Regions from separate parts of the Homo sapiens genome. Here region 2 is linked to region 1. Evidence: promoter capture Hi-C in 16 types of primary human blood cells and fetal thymus (Javierre and others, 2016). All regions are on one chromosome and are shown on one strand. The core of a region is centred on a gene start or on the middle of the fragment in contact, and the rest is flanking DNA. Distances in the headings are between cores, read along the strand shown. Region 1 holds the start of ACAD11 (acyl-CoA dehydrogenase family member 11). Region 2 has its middle 7.5 kb from the start of TOPBP1.

Region 1 (4,295 bases), core at 291-2,790:
GCGGAAAGTTTCACAACTTGCCAAAGGTTAGGCAGTTACGAAGAGAGTAGTTAGATTTGAATTGCAATCAGTCTGGCGGTAGAGTCCTTACCCTTAACCATTGCACTATATTCCATCTGCTGAATTGATAAGCTTTGTTAGGAAAGAAGAAAAGAGAGGCCTGGGCAGTCTTGGTAATGTCGAATGGTTTGAGATGTTAAGGAGCACCCGAATATCTCAGAATAGAGCTAACCCCGCTCTCCCCCGCCCCGACCCCATTTAAGATGCATTGATAAGCCTTTAATGAAACTCAAAGTTTACCTTAGCAGGTTTAATATTTGATCTCATCTTCTGAAAGTTCTTACTATCAGTCTTATACACAGCGAGGCGGACTAATTAAGAGGCAAGGGTGATAGGAAACTGGACACACGTCCTCAGCAGGCACAGGAGCAGCACCATATGGCTGACTCACTGGAGGTTTTTAAAAAAGAGAAAGAATATCTTCCGATCAGTACTAAGATGTGGCCTTGCCCATTTGGGAACAGGATTCGCAGACCAAGAAAAGGGTGGCGGGCGTCCCCATGAGCGGGACGTGGGAAGCGCCTCACTTCTGACCTCACGGAGCCTGACCTCGTCCCCCGCGCCTGCCTCCGACCGGCGACGCAGGTTACCTGTAGGGATTCGAATCCACCACCTCTGAGCTCATCTTCTCGATGCGGACCCGGCCGCCCCCTCCGTCGCCGCTCCTCGGGACCTGCAGACTCCTCTCCTGGGCAAGTTCCCGCTCCAGCTCCTGGACCCGCTGCTGCAGGCGCTCCACAGACTCCGCCATGGCTGGGACTCCGGCCGCCAACGCTCCCAGCCCGGGCCTTCGCCGCCGCCTTCGCCCCACGTTGCTCGGCTGGGCCCGCGAGGGGTACGTGGGGAGGCACCTCGCCGCTGCCTTCCTAGCCCAGAGCCCTGGGGACGTGCACCCAGCGCCTCACAGACAGACACGTCTCCGAGACTCCCACAGGCCTTCCTCGGAGCCGCTTCCGGTGCGTCGCAGACATCGCTCCCCCTCATCAAAAACCTGGCTCTTTCGGCTTCCTTCCTCGCTGGGCCGGCTAAACCCGGCCGCAGCAGCACCGGGGTGATAAGTGTCCAGGGCAGGAGGCCAGCGATGTTGCCTTGCTAACCGGGTATCTAAGAGAAACAGGGTCTTTTTATTCTTAGGCTCGACAGTCTGACGGCCCTTTTTCTGAACGGGACCCTGCAGGTCTTCCGCCTGCTGTTGCATTAAATTTGGGGGTGGAAGAGGCTTCTGCGTTGTTCCTTACCCGCAACGATGACCATGGCTTTGCCTTCTTTAAAATTGAGGCCTCCAACTCTGACGCTGACTGGAGAATTGAAACCCGAACACACATTGGGCTCTTTTGGCACTTGACTAGAGCTAAAACCTCGGGATTCAGCGGGCAAGCGTTGCTCAGCAACGGCGCGTAGGCTGTGTGCGGTTGGCTGGAGCCAGACCCCACCCCGGCCTCGGCCCATGCTCTAGAGGGGACGTTGCCCCAATCCTGAAGGACTTCGGCACTCGAGACCTGTGGATGCCGCGTTGCTGTGGCCTGCGGGGGTGATCATGAAGCCAGGTGCTACTGGCGAGTCCGATTTGGCCGAAGTGCTGCCCCAGCACAAGTTCGACAGCAAGTCCCTGGAGGCCTACCTAAACCAGCACTTGTCTGGCTTTGGGGCCGAACGTGAGGCTACGCTGACCATTGCCCAGTACAGGTATGGATGTCAGCCTTTGCCTCCAGCGGAAAAAAATTTGTACATTGAGTTTTCCTTCCTTTGGCCCTGGGTGGTTTCCTAAGTTTCTCCCACCCTGATTGCTTTTCCTGCAGTCAGTGGACGCACCCTACAGGCATGAGCTGCTATTGCCGGCCCTCCGAATTCGATGCTGGGGGCTTCCCAATTGGAGGGCGGTAATGGAAGCGCAATAACGTTCACCATTCTACTATCCAAAGGAATCTTTGTTAAAGGATGGATTTATGTCCCTTGAGGATTCACCAAGGCAATTAAGGCTACAAATTCTGAGAAATAGATGCCTTCTTTTGTGATACAGCCATTAGATCTTTTTCTGAGAAGCTGGTGTAATTCCGTTTGATTGGCCGTATTCCGGGAGGCTGAGTTAATGACACCAGATGGAGGATCCGAATTCGAGTACTAGCTTTTCCACTTAGGAGGTCACAGCACCACTTTGGGCCTCAGGTTTTTTGAAGTGAGGTAATGGAACTGAGTGAGAGGATCCTGAGAGTAGCGTTCCCCACCGGGAATCTGGCTTTAGTCTGATGTTTTACAATAGATAATACATTCTTAAAACTTTATTCTAAAAATAACATTGTTACTAATACAGGGCTACAGAAAGAGTCCTATCATTCAGAAAACTGGATCTGTCACTTGCTGTCTGGGAGTTTAAATATGTTACATAAACACTCTGAGAACTAGTTTCCTAAGTTGTAATACCTATTTTGATTAGTCTTATTAATGAAATGAAATACCGTAATATAGGTGAAAGGGCGTAAAAATTGCAACAACATAGTGTGCTAGTGGTATTTTATCACTAGCATTTATATTCTTTGACTACTGATTTTGGTGAAAATGAAAATAATAATAAATGAGATGGATCAGGGAACATTTTAGGGTGTAGAATTTAAAGGTCCCATGTCCCAATAGATATTGGAAGATGAAGGGAAAGGTGGAATAAAGAATAGCTGAGATTTCTAGGCTAGAAGCCTTGTGTTGTAACAAACTGAAACAGATCAAAGTTCAAATTTCAACTATTTCAATTGCTGTGGAATTTGGACAAGTTACCCTTTGAACATCTAGTCCTGCTTTGGCAAAAAGGAGATAGTAACGTTCATATTGTAGGAGTGTTGAAGAGGTACATAACTGAAAGATACTTAATTCTGAACCAAGCTGAATGTTAAACCATAACCGTGTTCAAAAAATGAAATTAGTTGTAAATTAGTTGTGGTATAAAAATTGCTTCCAGAAATGTTGTATAAGCTTGGTTTAATAAATATATATGGAACTCTGGATCCCACAGAGAACACACATTCATTTCTAGGACACATGAAAAAGTTTATAAAAATTGAAAACACATAGGCCATGAAGGAAGTCTCAGAAACTCAAAAGAATCAATCTTTATATTTTGAAAATGTGTGTTTTGGCCAGGTGCAGTGACTCACACTTGTAATCCCAGCACTTTGGGAGGCCGAGGCACGTGGATCACTTGAGGTCAGGAGTTCAAGACCAGCCTGGCCAACATGGTGAAACCCCCATCTCTACTAAAGATACAAAAATTAGCCGGGCGTGGTGGCACGTGCCTGTAGTCCCAGCTACTTGGGATGCTGAGGCAGGAGAATCGCTTGAACCAGGAGAGGGAGGTTGCAGTGAGCCAAGATTGCACCACCATGCTCCAGCCTAGGTGACAGAGTGAGACTCAAAAAAAAAAAAAAAAAAAAGGAATATGTGTTTTTTTAATACCAAAAGTTTAACAGAAGATAGCTAACAAATACATGTTTATAAATTAAGTGATTCATGGATTAAAGAGCCAATAATCTACATAGACAGTAAAAGACTATCAAAGTTCAGTGTACAGAAATCAACTGCATTTCTCTACTTTAGCAACAGTTAAAATGTAATTTTCAAAAACTTACAGGAGCATCAAAAATATAAATTACCTAAGTAAAAGATGTGCAATACCTTTGTAGAGAAATGATAAAACTTTTATTAGGACCTTAAAAAGAATTTTAAAAATTGAGAGATGCCATGTTGTTGAATAGGAATATTCAATATTGCAAACTTTTTTCTTCCAGTTGATCTATTGATTCAAAGCAATGACAATCAAAATCCTAATTTTTTTCTCTAATTTGAAAAAGTGCTCCTAAATTTTATGTGTAAGAGCGAAGGGCTAAGGATAGCAGAAACATTTTTAAAGAACCACAAGGTGGGAAATTTGAGTTAAGATGGTATGATATTAGCACAGAGATAGACAGACCAATAAAATAGAACAGAGAGTTCACAGAAAGACCCACATATTTATAGAAGTTTGATAAGTGACAATGTTGGCACTGAGAGTCAGTGGGGGGAAAAGAAGAACTTTTCAAGAAGTTATACTGGAATAATTGTTATCTGTATGAAGAAATAGAAATTAGACTCTTTATCTCACACAGTTCCAGGTAGATAAAAGAACTGAATGTTAAACTATAAATGTTTGGAAGATGTGTAAGTTATATTTTTGACTTTAGAGAAGAAAATATTTTAAAGACAACAGC
Region 2 (4,107 bases), core at 947-3,446, 1.0 Mb before region 1:
GATTACAGCTGTGAGCCACCATGCCTGGCCTCTCTTGCCTTTTTTTTTCTTTTAAGGCAGTTAAGGTCACTGATTTTTCAGCCTCTCTTCTCTATTACATGTGATAAAGGCTATAAATTTGCCTATAAGTATTCCTTTTCTTGATATATTATAACTTCATGGTTATTCAGTTCAAAATATATTCTAATTTTATTGTGATTTCTTATTCAACTCATGGTTTATTGAGAAATGTATTGCTTGATTATCCAGGTGGGCCAATATCCTCACAAGGGTTCTTTAAATGTAGAAGCAGAGCCTCCAGAAAGGAACTCAGCCCTGCTGACATCTTGATTTAAGCCCAGTGAGATCCACTTCAGACTTCTGACCTCCAAAACTGTAAGATATTAAGTTTTGTTACAGTAGTAACAGGAACCTCATATACTTGATATATTTATTGGAGCCTCTTCAAGGTGTGGCATTATCTTTTTATCTCCCATTCCATGGAACTTCAAATTGTGCCAAGTATCTTAAGGAGAAAACTGGCCCTTTGTCAAGCTTAGTTCTCTGCTCCTCCCTTCTCAATGGGATCTTGCCTCCACTTCTGTTTTTCCAGCCCTGAGACTGCCATCAGTTCGGCTGGCTTCTCTGTAAGCCAGCAGTGACCCTCTGCTCAGGTAAAGCCAGATTCCCCCTGGCCATGTGCCGAGTGGTTCATCTTTAACTGTCCTGGCTCTCCCTTCACTTACTCATACATTTGAAAGGAAATAGGATCTATGAGCGCAGAGATCACTTTTTTCTTGTCCAACATTCTAACACAAGGTTGGAAAATACTGTCTGCTATAGTATTGGGCTCAAAAAATCAAACAGATCAATAAATGCACACAAATGTCTCAAAAGTGGGTTGAGCAATCTCCTATGCAGGCCTATGGACAAAAACCAAATAAAGTCCAGAGGTGATCATTCCTTCTAAGGTTAATTATTCACCTAAAACTAACACAGCCTAAATCCAATAGCAGCCACTGTGCCCCCGACCCTAGATTAGATCAAACTCTGAAAACTTCGTGTGTACTGGGACAAAGTGATATTGCAAAGATAGGACATCCAAAGTGCTAAAGTCATTTCTGTGCTTTGGTACAGGCTCTCATAAATAGCAAAGCAGAAGGTTAGATGCTTGTATGGTGGAAAACAGTTTTAAAACTTCACGGCAAAGATGGTCTTTGGAAAACTTGGGATTTATAGATTTATTAGTGTGTACCAGGCATTGTACTAAGTGCTTCCCAAATGTTAAATGATAGTAACCCCATAAGGCTATTGCCATCCTCTTTTTGTACAGAGAGACAGTGAAGCACAGAAAGGTTAACCAGTGACTTGCCCAAGGTCAGGTAGCTAGTAGGTGTCCAAGCTGGCATTCAAACTAGGCAGCCTGCTTCCATAGTCCATGCTGTTTCTCATGTGGCCTCTGACATTTGTCTCTGGAGCAATTTCACACTTTCCCCTTTCCAAGGCATCTTGAAGTAATAACGGCATGGGGCACCATGTTTGTTTAAACTGTTTCCAAGTTCAGAATTGGTTGGATTTAACTGTCCTGGCTCTCCCTTCACTTATTCATACATTTGAAAGGAAATAGGGTCTATGAGGGCAGAGATCAAATTTTCTTGCCCAACATTCTAATATAAGGTTGGAAAATAGTGTCTCACAAATAGCACTAACTGCTATAATAGCAAAGCTCCAAAATCTTAATGGTTTAACACAATAGGAGTTGACCTCTTAGTAACATAAAGCCCATCTGGCAGCAATCGTGGTGATTTGTTAGGGTGGGAGTGGGGAGTTCACTTTCATAGCTCCATTCAGTCATTCAGAGATCCAGGCTGAGAGAGGTTCTGCCATTTTCAACACATGGCTTCCAAGATTGCTCTGTGTGTTGATATTCAAATGACAGAATAAGGAAGAGCGTGGAAGGTAGTGCAAGAAATTTCCTTGGATCAAGCTCGGATGTGACAAACATCACTTCTACCTATATTCTATTGGCCATAACTCAGTCCCATGACCCCACCAATTGTAAAGAGGATGGGAACCATAGTCTCTGGCTAGGAAACTACTTCTCAGCAACAGCAAAACACTATGAAAGGGGAGCACATGTCTGGGGTCTTTTGTCTTAGTTTGAGCAGACCCAGAAAACAGACTTTTAGACAAGCCTTCTCAGATGTTTTATTTGACAAGTAAAGAAACACAGGCAAGACAGTAGAGATGTGGCTGGGCACGGTGGCTTATGCTTGCAATCCCAGCACTTTGGGAGGCCTAGGTGGGTGGATCGCCTGAGGTCAGGAGTTTGAGACCAGCCTGGCCAATATAGTGAAACCCCGTCTCTACTAAAAATACAAAAAATTAGCCAGGTGTGGTCGCAGGCACCTGTAATCCCAGCTACTCGGGAGGTCAAGGCAAGAAAATCGCTTGAACCCGGGAGGCGGAGGTTGCAGTGAACTGAGATCGCGCCATTGCACTCCACCCTGGACAACAGAGCAAAACTCCGTCTCAGAAAAAAAAAGAAAAAAGAAAATAGAGATGTGAGACAGGGAGAAAGGCATCCAAAGAATGTGTTAACAAGTCAGATGCCACTGTGGACACTGGGACTTAATTCCCCTGAGGAAACTATGAGAGTCAGAGTGGATGTCCCATCCACGGGACATGCAAACAAGGGTTTTTGTGCACCAACTCCTGTCAGCCATCATTTAAGGGGTTTTTTTCCCTATAGGTCATAAATCCTCTAGCCCTCTGGCCTACTGTGCAGGTGGCAGAGCAGATTCCTGGTGCCAGAGAATGCCTTCATGCAATGAACACAGATGCTGGCAGCTGGAAGTTTCCTAATGTGCATGAGTGCTAAGGGTGAGGGGGTATGGGTGGGACACTAAGGGTTTCTACATGGTCTCTGCCAGAATCCAGACATGTTTTTTTCCCTCCCTGCCCAAGCACACATCTGCTACACACTGGGGAATGGGGAGGCACAAACAGAATAACAACAATAAAACTCCCTTTCAGAAAAGGGAGGAGTGGAGACCCATAGCCATCATTGGTCAGTATCAATTTTGAAGTTGGGCAGGCACTAGGAGGCTCTCGATTGGGGGTTCTGATTAGATCAGATTCTGTTCTGTGACAGGAGCTCCTTTGCTCGTTGCTCTCCAGGATCCCTGGTACCTCCTTCTGGGAGGATCTTCATTTTCTATTACCCTCTCTATCCATATCTGAATACTGAGGAGTTTGTGCTCCTTGGGGCTGTATGACTTTCCACCTACTTGTGCTGCGAAAATTTGAGGATTAAATCAAAGTCTGAATACTCCAGGTTTCTGGTTGGGTTCAGAAAGCAATTATCTCAAAATGTTCGTAACCTTCAGATCTATTTGGTTCCAGTCAGTTTCACGTGGTAATTGTCAACCTCACACATACAAAACAAGGTCAAGGGTAGGGCCTGATTCCACCAGTGAACATACTTGAGACATTTTTAGATTTAGATGGTTTATTACTTCCATAGATAGCAACAGAGAAGAATAAGTGAAAGATGTCTTCTCCCTGGGTCTGATGATTGCAATGCGAGTTGTAGGATACTCTATTACTAAGGAGTCAAATCTAGATGGCAGCTAGTGCTTTTATATTCTGCAGGCCTATCATGAGGGGAGTGGGGCAGAAAGCCCCATATCTCATCAAAACCTGGGAGGTGATGAGAAACTATGTCATGACAGCCTCTTAGGAGAGATAGAAAGGTGAGTGAGAGATGCCTTTCTAGTAGCTCCTTAGACACCTCCCTTAAGGATGACAAGGTGTTGTGCCAGGGCTCAGATAAGTTGCAATTCAAGCCTTTGCCTCTATTGATATGTGTAAGCTTATCAATAGAGGAAGTCATGGCAGAGCTGTTCTTCTACAGAAGTAGTCCCCTCCCTAGTTCTTTCCTAGACATAATTTTCAAACCTGATTGCTATCTTTGGCCCCATACCTCTCTCTCTCTCTCTCAGTTGATGGTGCCTACCTAGCTTGGGTGACAGGACCATATTCTTTAACTAGATCTTTTCCACATGGTCGGGTTGTAATGGACATTTGTTGCTCAAAACCTTTCTCAGGTTTATCTCTTGTTTTTAG

Evidence for each region. Contacts are between HindIII fragments. The CHiCAGO score rates a contact against its expected background, and 5 or more counts as called.
Region 2: a fragment that was not itself captured here is called in contact with the fragment with the promoter of ACAD11 in region 1 in 4 of 17 cell types (non-activated CD4 T cells, fetal thymus, total CD4 T cells and 1 more); the score reaches 7.0 in non-activated CD4 T cells.

Annotation. Positions count from the first base shown.
Region 1 is chr3:132,657,054-132,661,348 of GRCh38, reverse strand. It overlaps ACAD11 (acyl-CoA dehydrogenase family member 11), which reads left to right and starts at 1,540. Exons shown (of 20, transcript NM_032169.5): 1 at 1,540-1,746. The coding sequence starts at 1,598. UBA5 (ubiquitin like modifier activating enzyme 5) reads right to left here and starts at 1,020. Exons shown (of 12, transcript NM_024818.6): 1 at 651-1,020. The coding sequence starts at 811. The region is part of intron 26 of NPHP3-ACAD11 (NPHP3-ACAD11 readthrough (NMD candidate)); the gene reads left to right. RefSeq lists enhancers at 425-704, 1,075-1,164, 700-1,238. The HindIII fragment of the contact is 2,892 bases long and covers 135-3,026 here.
Region 2 is chr3:133,667,425-133,671,531 of GRCh38, reverse strand. It overlaps a transcript of TF not described here. Among named protein-coding and RNA genes, the nearest start is that of TOPBP1, 7.5 kb to the right of the region's middle. RefSeq lists a cis regulatory region at 950-963 and an enhancer at 885-1,029. The HindIII fragment of the contact is 3,319 bases long and covers 537-3,855 here.